Regions from separate parts of the Homo sapiens genome. Here region 2 is linked to region 1. The links are contacts of gene promoters, found by promoter capture Hi-C in blood cells and fetal thymus (Javierre and others, 2016). All regions are on one chromosome and are shown on one strand. The core of a region is centred on a gene start or on the middle of the fragment in contact, and the rest is flanking DNA. Distances in the headings are between cores, read along the strand shown.

Region 1 (5,578 bases), core at 1,812-4,311:
AAAAAATCACAGAGTGTGAGGGGAGCATCCAGAGAGGCCTGAAGGGGGTGTCTGAGGAGGAAGAAGGAGGGGAAGGAAAGTGGGGGCTTCCTGGAGGAGGTGGTGTTCTAAATACTGAGACCCATTTCTTTTTTTTTTTTTTTGAGACAGAGTCTCACTCTGTCGCCCAGGCTGGAATGCAGTGAGGCTGTCTCAGCTCACTGCAACCTCCGCCTCCCGGGTTCAAGCGATTCTCCTGCCTCAGCCTCTGCAGTAGCTGGGATTACAGGTGTGTGCCACCACGCCCAGCTAATTTTTTGTATTTTTAGTAGAGACAGGGTTTAACTGTGTTAGCCAGGAGGTCTCCATCTCCTGACTCGTGATCCACCCGCCTCGGCCTCCCAAAATGTTGGGATTATAGGCACCCCGCCAACTGAGGTGCATTTCTTAAGTAGGGAGTGAGGAAGAGAGTTGGTGCAGACACAGGTGATGCAGACACGTTGGGGGGCTGGTGATGAGAAGCGGGAGGGGACCAGGGAGGGCTCTTGAGGGGCCGAAGGATTCCAGGATGGAAAGTGCCCTTTGGAAAGAACCTGTGGCTTTAAGGTGAAGACTCGGTTGATTGGGGGTAGGCGATGAGAAGACCTAGGCCAGGCAGCGGCAGGGGCAGGGGCGCGGGCGCGGACACAAGCTGGGGAGGCAGGATCTCGGGATCCTGAGTAATACAGAGTGGGGAGGGAGCAGTGGCGTGACGTCAGGCTGCGGGGGGATGGGCGTGCCTTCTGCGGGAATGGAAATAGCCCAGTGGAAGGTGGTGGTGAAGGGGTGGGGGCGAGCTCAGCTTCAGACACGCCAGCTTGAAGTGTCAGGAGCCACACTGGAGACCCGGTGTGACCTCTCACACTAGAACTTAGGCAGAAAATGAATGGGTAAGAGGCCAGTGAGCACAGCTGACCCACTCCCTGCTCCTGCAAGAGGGAAGTCTCTCCACGTCCCCATGTCCCCAGTCCTGGTGTTTCAGCCACAATGGAGTTAGGTGCTCTTTGCCCACCCTACAATGTTTTGTTTGAGACGAGGTCTCACTTTGTTGCCCAGGCTGGTCTTAAACTCCTGGGATCAAGCAATCCTCCTGCCTCGGCCTCCCACAGTGCTGGGATTACAGGCGGGAGCCACCGTGCCCAGCCCACCCCTGAGCTTGGACTGTGCTGTTTCTCCATGGTGGGCTGCTCTGCGCCACCTTTCCTTGGTCTGAATTCGGCCCCAGGCACAGCCTTCCTGGCCTAGGCTTTCCTGGAGGGCTTGGAGTTATGGGGGCAGGCACTGGTGTTGCTCTCACTCAGAGGGCGGTCGGGGCTGGAATGGTGCAGGTGAGGGACAAGACGGCGTAAGATGGGGGACAAAGCCAGGGAAAGGATGGGATCAAGCAGGGGAAGGGCAGAGCTAGGGGTAGCCCTGGGTATGCCAGGACCTGCAGCAAAATTGGGGCTACAGGGCCTTGTGACTCCAGGAAGAATGAGGGCGTCTGAGATTTAGGAAGTCCGCAGGAGAGAGGAGAGTGTGTGGAGAGGGTGGCAGGCCACGCAGCACAGAGGTCCACTTGGACAGCCTGACAGATGTCCTTCTGCTTAGAGAAATGGCGGTCACCAGTGACCTTGGCAAGGGCAAGGAGCTGGAGAGGGAAGGGCAGGTGAGGAGGTGGAGACAGAGTGAAGATTCGTCTTCTCAGAAACAAGGGCCGGGCAAGAAAGAGGGAGGAGCAGAAAGGGCCTCTGGCCGTATCTGTTGCCTCCTCTCCTTTGAACCAGGACAGACTTAGGGACTTTCACGGGCTGCAAGTTCCAAGAGTGGCAGACCCAGGCTAGCCTGGGGAAGGGGCTTGAGGGAGGCTCCTGCTGGGGAAGGTGGGGCTGAGTCCAGCAGGAGGGCCAGACCAGGGGCCATGACCCCATTGCCTACATAGAGAAGGTGATGAGCCAGCATCCAGGCTACTCAGGGAGAGCTCTAACCCAGGATGAGGCCTTAGAGCTCAAAGGACACTCAGGCCTGGTGGCAGCTGCCCAGGGCCCCTGAAAGGGGGAATGGAGATCAGGCAGAGGGGGTGCCAGGGACTGCCACACAGGATCAGTAGGGCAGCGCCAGCCCTGGCTGGGCTGCTTTCACGGCTGCGGGAACCGCTCCAACTGCTCCAGAAAGACAGAAAGATGGCCCTGAAGGTGCAGGCTTTGCGTGAGTGGGTGGCTGCAAGGACAGGTGGGAGGACCAGGACGCCAGAACGTGCAGAGCCCGGGGGGCCTCCAGAGGTCGCAGTTCCGACAGGGCTTCCACCAGTCATGCCTACATCTTGAGGGGCAGAGACACACCCCACTAATGTTTGGGTCCCTGATGCAAAGGCAGAGACAGGTGCGGGGAGGGGGTCCTTTTTCTCCGAAGCGAGAGGTGAAGTCACCAACTGCTGGGTCAGAGGCAGTAGGTCTGGGTCTGGAGGAGACTGGGGACAGGGTGGAGGGAGGTGACCGCAGCCACGGGCTGGGACTTCACAGGTGTGGGCTGGGGGCTTTTCCGGACGCTGTGGCAGAGGAGGCCCGCGCGCCGCACATCTGCTGGGACCCTTAGCTCGCCCAGGATTGGTAGGGAGATCCTGGAAGACCAGCGCCCGGAGGGGTGAGGCCCCGTCTTGGGGGCAAGGCCGCGAAACCACGGCCTGCAGCTTCACGCCAGGGGTACAAAGAAAAGCGTCGCCGGGAACCCAACACCTGCAGACGACGCGCAGCCGCAGAGGAGGCGGGGCGTCCGAGGCCCCGCCCCGTATGCTAATGAAGCACACACCACACCGCCCCGCCCCGGCGCGAGACCGGTCCAACGCTGCGGAGATCCAGAGGCCGGCGGCGCCCGGAAACACCCGCGGAGGCCGAGGCAGGGCGGGGCCGGGCGCCGGGGCCGGGTCGCTGGGCGGGCGGCACAGCCCGGGGGAGGTCAACGGGCCGGCCGGGCGTCCCGGGGACGCGTCTCCCCCACGGTGCGAAGTGGTACGGCTCGCAGGGGCGGGGCCCAGGTCATGTGACGCGGCCGCGGCCGCCATTTTGTTCTGCGGTGCTGGTATTTAGAGCGCAGCGGCTGACGGGCCGGATCGCCTTCGCCGCCGCCCGCCCGCAAACCTTCGTGCCCGGCCCGTCCTCGCCCCCGCCTCCGCCACCGCCTCGGCCCGCAGAGCTTGCCCCCTCCCCACCCGCAGACATGTCCGAGTCCAAGAGCGGCCCCGAGTATGCTTCGTTTTTCGCCGTCATGGGCGCCTCGGCCGCCATGGTCTTCAGCGGTGAGCGCGGCGGCGGGAGGGACTCGGGGGCGGGGGCGCGCGCGTTGCTCATGCCCGCAGCTCGCCGGGGTCCGGTGTGTGACGTCACTCTGACGTAATCCCGAGCTGTCGGGGGCGCCCGGGCCTCGTGTGACAGCGGGCGGGGGTCGGCGCCCCGAGGGCTGCGGGGAGCCGCCGGGGGTCCGGGGCGCAGGGCGTGCGGGCCTGGCCGGGGTGTGAGTCTCGGGGGTCCGGGCCGGCGGCCCTGCCAGCCGGGTCGTGCGGTTGCGGGGGTGGGGCGGCGGCGCCGCTGCCATATTAGCCCCGGGAGCGGCGAGAGGGAGGCTGGGGTGGGGGCGCGAGGGGGGCGGCGCGAGGGGGGCCGATTCTGCGGGCAGGTGACATCACACCTCGAAGGCCCCAGTGCGCGGGCGGCGGCGCGGGTCCGGCCCAGGAACGCCCAGCCGGTCGCTGGAGCTTTCCGGCTGGTGGGGAGCCCATGTCCCCCACGGGAGGTCCTCAGCCCTCGCCCTTATGGCGGCCGGCCCCGAGGGTCAGGTGGGTCTCACCCACAGGCAGGTACTTCCGGTTGGAGCTGGTTACAGTTGCCCAATACCCGTGTCGCTGTGTGGGCTGTTTGGGAAAGCTGGGCTGAGGGCTTGGTTCGGAGAGCCCGCGGAGACCCGGGTGGGAGTGTGTGGAAGTGGAGGGAGCGGGGAGACAGCAGCATCGGCGCTGGCGGGGCTGTGTAGCTTGCAGAGGGTCTGTGCTCTGAGGTGGGTGAGAGGGTGGCATGGGTGTCCGAGTTTATGGGATCCAGTCGTTGCCCTCAGGACTGAGGCTTCCAGTTGTGGTCCTAATGAATGGAGGGGTGAATGAATGACCTTCCTTTCCCTCCCTGAGGCCTGAAGTTGGGAGGGGCTTCCCTGGGCTTGGAGAAGGGGCCTTCTAGGGTTCTTGGTGGCACCCTGCTTTTGAAATTGGGCCTTGACAGGTCCTGGGCGTCCAATTTAGTGACAATTGGTCTCCCTGGGAGAATGGCACTTGGGCTAGGGCTAGGCCCAGGAATGTGGGTCCGACGAGTTAAGTTCTGGCCCAGTCTCAGCCTCCGTGGACTGGCCTGGCCTGGTCTGATTTCCGCCTCCGTGGTTAGGTCTGGTTTTAGCTTTGATGACCGTGCCCTGCCCCACCCTGCCTGGTGGCCTGGGGAGGCTCCTAGTGCAGATATGTGGAGGGTTTGAACTCCAAACAGTCTCTGCTGACTGTAAACACCTGTGGGGTGGGGGCTTGGAGCTCTCTGTTCTCTTGCGGGCCTCCTTCTGCCTGGGCCTGTCTGCCATTCGTGAGTGAGCCCTGGCCTTCCCGTCGTGTGCAAGTAAGGGGTCATTTGTGGTGGAAGAAGTGGTCTAGACTTCTCCTTCCCCCTAGGCACCGCCTGCTCTTTCCACAGACTCAAGGCTTCTCCCAACAGGCTGCCGAGCCCTTCCCCCCAGCCTCCTCTGTTCTTTGCCCTCAGAATGCCTTCAGAGATTCCATTTTGCCTGGCCACCTGTGGGGTATTAGCTTGTGGCTGTCACTCATTCATCCAAACAATCTTGATTGAGCGCTTACTATGTGCCAGGTACTGGTAGGACAGCAGTGAACAAAATGGGATCCCCGCCCATGTGGAACTTAAATTCTAGCTGTTGCTGCTTGCCCTTGAAGCCCTGAGTTTGTCCACCAAGCCCTTTTTCTGCACCCAGCTCCTTTCCTCTCTCTCCGTCAAGACCTACACAGGTCTTTGGGCAGCCTGACCAGCAGGTGTCTGGAAATTGAGAACACGGTATTGCTGGCCTAGGCCTTTCCTGCTTATCCCTGGCTCTTCGGGATAAACGTGGCTTACTGTGGCTCTCCAGGAGCTGACCTCTGACTTCACTTGGCCAATTCAGACAACTGCTTTTTTTTTTTTTTTTTTTTTTCTCCCCTCCTCAAGACAGGGTCTTGCTCTGTTTCCCAGGCTGGAGTGCAGTGGTGTGGTCATGGCTCACTACAGCCTCAACCTCCCAGGCTCAAGCAATCCTCCTGCCTCAGCCTCCTGAATAACTAGGACTACAGGCACAGGCTACCATGCCCAGCTAATTTTTTTTTTTTAGAGACAGGGTCTCGCCATGTGGCTCAGGCTGGTCTCAAACTCCTTGTTGCCTCAAACGATCCACCTGCTTCTGCCTCGTAAAGGGCTGGGATTATAGGCATGAGCCACCATGACTGGCTCAACTTCTGACTTCATTTCTGCCTTCTCAGCATGCTTTCCTCCAGGACCTGGCTTCA
Region 2 (5,181 bases), core at 1,934-4,433, 230 kb before region 1:
TCCACGAAGGCCTTGAACTCCTCCAGCGCCTCCTGTTGCCCTTCACTCTGCACCTTGGCCCGCAGGGAGTAGCCGCTGCCGAACTTGCTCTTGAGGTGCTGGGGGCTGCCCAGGCACTTGAACTGCCCCTGCACCATGATGGCCAGCCGGGTGCACAGGGCCTCACACTCCTCCATGCTGTGGAGAGGGCGGGACCTCAGATAGGGCTTGGGGTGCCAAAGGCTTGTGCAGACAGGAAGGCATTGGCTCTCCGATCAGGCTGTTCCTGATACCCATGCTCAGTGTGGCTCACGGGCAGACTCTGCACCAGATGCTGATGGGTCTCCTGGCCACCTGGCTCCTCCATGGCCCACCCGGTGCTGAAACTTCCAGTAACCCACAGACCCAGGCTCTACCTGTGGGAGGTGATGATGATGGCCTTGCCAGACTCTCGGGCTCGTGCCACGGTGTCCCAAAGCAGGCGCCGGGCCACGGGGTCCATGCCAGTGGACGGCTCGTCCAGGAAGATGACAGCAGGCTCTCCGATCAGGGCGATGCCGGTGCTCAGCTTCCGCTTGTTACCACCACTAGAGGCAGGAGGGTGCCAGGTGGGGGAATAAGGCTGAGAGTTAGCATTGGCTCCCATGTCCCAGTGGAGGCCCGTGTCCCAGCAGCGGCCCACACCCAGCAATTGCAGAACAGCCCTAGTGAAGAGGAAGGAGCTGTGTGTGCACCTGGAAAGCCCACCGCATAGGGCTGGAGGCCCCAGAGAAGGCTGTTCCCAGGGGCCCGGTGCACGCACCTACATGGGAAGACATCTGCCTGCACCTAAAGGGGACCTGCCGACCCTGACATCTCTCACTGCTGGCTTTGTCCCTAGGTGGCAGGCACTGTCAGGGCAGTCCCTTTCCTACGTGGAGCTACCTGGGTCACACCACCACATCCCAGCTCCATCCTGGAGCCACAAGCAGGAGCTCTGGCTGCTGACCTGAGCGGTCACTCCCAGCTCTATGCTATGGGGACCTTGATTCTGACTCCACTCTGGGAAGGGCCAGGGCTCGGGAGGTGCACCTGTACGTCCTGACCAGCTTGTTGGCATGTGGCTCCAGCAGCAGGCCCCGCAGAGTGTTCTCCACGCAGGCCCCGATGTGGCGCTCAGGGATGCCCCGGAGCCGAGCGTACATGACCAGCATCTCCCGGCCTGTCATGTGGTCCAGCAAGGCATCAAACTGCGGGCAGTAGCCGATCCGCTGCCGCACCTGGGGTCGGAGCATAGCCGGGGAGGGAGGCGGGTTGGAGGGAAGCCTCCTTCCTCCAGAGGACCACGGGGACTACCCTTGAGGTGCCCACCACTGCGCCTGTCTGTGGTTCCTGCCAGTGTGTGTACACGGGGGCGCTGGAGCTATGCACAGGCCGTGGTGGCTGCCCACAGTGGAAGCTCTTGGAACAGGGACACAGGAAGGATGTGCCTGGTGCAGGGAGGCTTCCAGAGCTGCTCTCAGAGCCTGGTCCAGGACAGGCAGCCATGGGGTTAGGTGGTGCAAGAATGGCCTTTACGTAGAAGCAGACTCAGAGCTGGCTACCCACTCATTCACACCTGGGACATCTGATGTGCTAGGACTCTTTCTTCTCCCTCTAAGAAGAAAGATTTGTGGGCACCACGTTTGGGGTGAGTACTGCTTGGTCAGATGGTGCAGCAGCTGTTCTCTGCACAAGTGACCACGTCCAGCTGAATTAAGACGTGCCTGCTGCCATCTGCTTAGCTACCTTCAGCAGCTGGTCGGGGGCAGGAGTGCCTGGGTTCTGTGGATTCCAGAGACTGGATTTCTTTTTCTTTACCTTCCTTCTTTGGGGTTCTCAAGCTTCCAGAATTTTTTTTTTTTTTTTTGAGACAGAGTCTTACTCTGTCTCCCTTACACTGGTAGAGCGCAGTGGCATGATCTCGGCTCACTACAACCTCTGCCTCCCAGGCTCAAGTGATTCTCATGCCTCAGGCTCCCGAGTAGCTAGGATTATAGGCACCTGCCACCATGCCCTGCTAATTTTTGTATTTTTCTTTGGTAGAGACAGCATTTTGCCATGTTGGCCAGGCTGGTCTCGAACTCTAGACCTCAAGTGATCTGCCTGCCTTGGCCTTCCAAAGCTGGGATTATAGGCGTGAGCCACGCTCCCAGCCCAGAATCTGTTTTTAATCAGTTTGGGGAAAGTCTTAGCCACTACCTTTTTGGCTACTACCCCCTGCCACTCTCTCTCTCTCTTCCTTCTGGAACTCAGATTACATGTACTGGGGACTTCTCACCCTCTCCTCCATTGCTAGATCACATACGGTTTTCTCTCCCCTGCATAGATTTTCAATTGCATAATTTATTTCTGTAGACACAGTGAGTTTATAATCTTTTATAATCTGGCCTGATGATGCAGATCTAACGCCTATGTGCTTGTCCCCCCATGGGGCCTGTGTCTATTGCTTCCAGCCATGGTACCATCTCCTCTGTTTGTTTGCTGTGCATTGCCTGTAAGCCCTGGAACCCTCTATGGGGGAGTCTGCAGCCTAGGATGAGGCTTTCCTCCCGAGAGGGCCTGCATGTGCTCTGGCCCAGGGCCTCTGCTGTCCAGGCACCCCTGGTGTGAGCTCAGGAGAGGACTCCGCGGCCACTTCTCAGCCCCAGGCCCTGCTTACCATTTCCCCTGCTCTGCTTGGCACACTTGAATTCCCATGCAGGCCCCGGGCAGAGGTGCAGGAGGGCTGCCTCTGGTCCTTCTGCGGGGGAGCTGGTGGGGCTCAGCTCAACATGGGAAAGCTGGGCGGGCCCAGGGCCTTCCATCCCTTCACTCAGCAAGGCCTCTAACCCCACACCTGAGCTGCCTGGACACAGAATGGCCTCTGCACAGAGGTGGCTGTCAGTGCTGAATGCGCCTCTCTGGGCTCACGGATGTTGGCACCCATCTCTCTCCCCTCCCATCACCTGCTAGTTCTGGCGAAGCTTAGCTTTAGCTCATTACCTTGTCTCGCTGTCCAGAGGCATGTGCTGGGCCCATTTCAAGCCACAGATGCAGCAGCTGTTTGGGGACAGCATCCCTCTGTCCCTGCCTCCAGGGTGCCCCCTCCAGCCATGCCTGTCTCACCCCTTCAGAGCCTCCCTGGCTGCACCCACCTTTCCGACATCAGAGCTGATTCTGTGACCCCCGACAAAGGCATCCCCAGAAGTGAGGCTCTCCTCCCCGGTCAGCATTTTGAAAGTCGTGGTCTTCCCGGCTCCATTGAAGCCCAGCAGGCCGAAGCACTCCCCTTTCTGCACCGCGAGGGAGAGCCTGTCCACGGCCAGGAGGGGCACCCGCTGCTCGTACACCTGCAGGCACCCAACAGAAAACACGGAATGCGGAGGCCTGGACGCAAAGCAGAGCAGTCTGAGCCTCAGCGCCGAAAGCTTCCAGGGATGGGGTCGGACCCTGGGGACAGCCAGGTAGTCAGCTGGCAGGAAGGACTCCACCCCAAATTGCAAGGGTACCTTGGAGAGCTCCTTGATAATCAGAGGTGTGTGGAGCAGGGAGTCCGGACTGGGGGCCAGGATGCGGGTCCTCTCGTCCGCTACATCTTGGTCCTCAGGAAGCACAGGCATCCGGGTGTATAATTCTGTCTGATTGACCAGGACAAAGACCGCATGCGTGAACCCAGCCGCAGGGCGGCTTCCGTGGAGAAGGGAGGGGCGGGGGTGGATGTGGGAGGTCTGGTGGGACTAAGGCCTTCAAGGCTTCTCGTCCCAATCTCAGGCCCCACAGGTGCGACTCAGACCTTTTACTAGAAGACACAGTGGTCTTACGGGGCTAAACTAGCATCCAGGAGACATAAACTATCTGAGGAAAAAGAACTGTGCGGGACTCATGGAGAAAAATCATAAATCTGCTGGGGAATATAAAATAAGATTTTTAGACAATTTTTTTTTTTTTTTTGAGACAGAGTCTCACTCTGTTGTCCAGGCTGGAGTGCAGTGGCGCAATCTCAGCTCACTGCAAACTCTGCCTCCCAGGTTCAACTGATTCTCCTGCTTCAGCCTCCCGAGTAGCGCGCCACCACGCCCAGCTAATTTTTGTATTTTTAGTAGAGACGGAGTTTCACTGTGTTGGCCAGGCTGGTCTAGAACTCCTGACCTTTGGTGATCCGTCCACCTTGGCCTCCCAAAGTGTTGGGATTACAGGCATTAGCCACCATGGCTGGCCTGAAAGTAAGATTTTTGTTTTCAGATTTAGAGATGGGGTCTTGCTCTGTCACCCAGGCTGGGATGCAATGGTGTAATCATAGGTCACTGCAGCCCGGACCTCCCAGGCTTAAGCCTCCTGTCTCAGCTTCCCTAGTAGCTAGGATTACAGGTGTGTGCCATCATGCCTAGCTAATTTTTAAAACTGTTTAGAAGAGATAGGGTCTCACTATGTTGCCCAGACTAGTCTTGAACTCCTGGCTTCAGGTGATCCACCTACCTCTGCTTTCTAAAGTGCTGGGATTACAGGTGTGAGCCACCATGCCTGGCCAAAGATTTTAACACGTGGAGACAGTTCCCTTTTTAGAGAAGTCTGACTATTTTAAAGAAGTGAATTCCCCCTCGGCTAAGCTGTATGTGCAATGCAATGTCAACACATTTGCTTTTGTTTGTTTGAGGGAGGGGATGGAGACCTGAGAAAATGAACGTTTTCAATAAACACGTGGAGCACCCCTCAGCCCCACATCCCCTCCTCCGGGCACTGGGTGTCCCTGGGCACCACCTCTGCTCAGCAGGACTGGGCACCCCTCAGCCCCACATCCCCTCCTCCGGGCACTGGGTGTCCCTGGGCACCACCTCTGCTCAGCAGGACTGGGCACCCCTCAGCCCCACATCCCCTCCTCCGGGCACTGGGTGTCCCTGGGCACCACCTCTGCTCAGCAGGACTGGGCAACCCTCAGCCCCACATCCCCTCCTCCGGGCACTGGGTGTCCCTGGGCACCACCTCTGCTCAGCAGGACTGGGCACCCCTCAGCCCCACATCCCCTCCTCCAGGCACTGGGTGTCCCTGGGCACCACCTCTCCTCAGCAGGACGGCCCTGGGCCCCCAGGCTGACTCCTCGGCAGGGGCTCACAACTCGACAGCCCTTGTGAGTGGCGAGGGCTGTGCCCCGCCCTGGCTGTAAGTGCCGGCTGGTGCTGAGGCCGTACAGTGGGAGACCATCTG

Evidence for each region. Contacts are between HindIII fragments. The CHiCAGO score rates a contact against its expected background, and 5 or more counts as called.
Region 2: a fragment that was not itself captured here is called in contact with the fragment with the promoter of ATP6V0C in region 1 in 1 of 17 cell types (endothelial precursors); the score reaches 5.6 in endothelial precursors.

Annotation. Positions count from the first base shown.
Region 1 is chr16:2,510,891-2,516,468 of GRCh38, forward strand. ATP6V0C (ATPase H+ transporting V0 subunit c) reads left to right here and starts at 3,062. Exons shown (of 3, transcript NM_001694.4): 1 at 3,062-3,292. The coding sequence starts at 3,214. RefSeq lists enhancers at 184-787, 1,578-1,872 and silencers at 2,778-3,257, 3,678-3,817. The HindIII fragment of the contact is 13,121 bases long and covers 1-5,578 here.
Region 2 is chr16:2,277,893-2,283,073 of GRCh38, forward strand. ABCA3 (ATP binding cassette subfamily A member 3) reads right to left here. Exons shown (of 33, transcript NM_001089.3): 27 at 3,489-3,617; 28 at 3,135-3,329; 29 at 1,051-1,238; 30 at 396-566; 31 at 1-177. Among named protein-coding and RNA genes, the nearest start is that of MIR4717, 5.9 kb to the left of the region's middle. The HindIII fragment of the contact is 444 bases long and covers 2,962-3,405 here.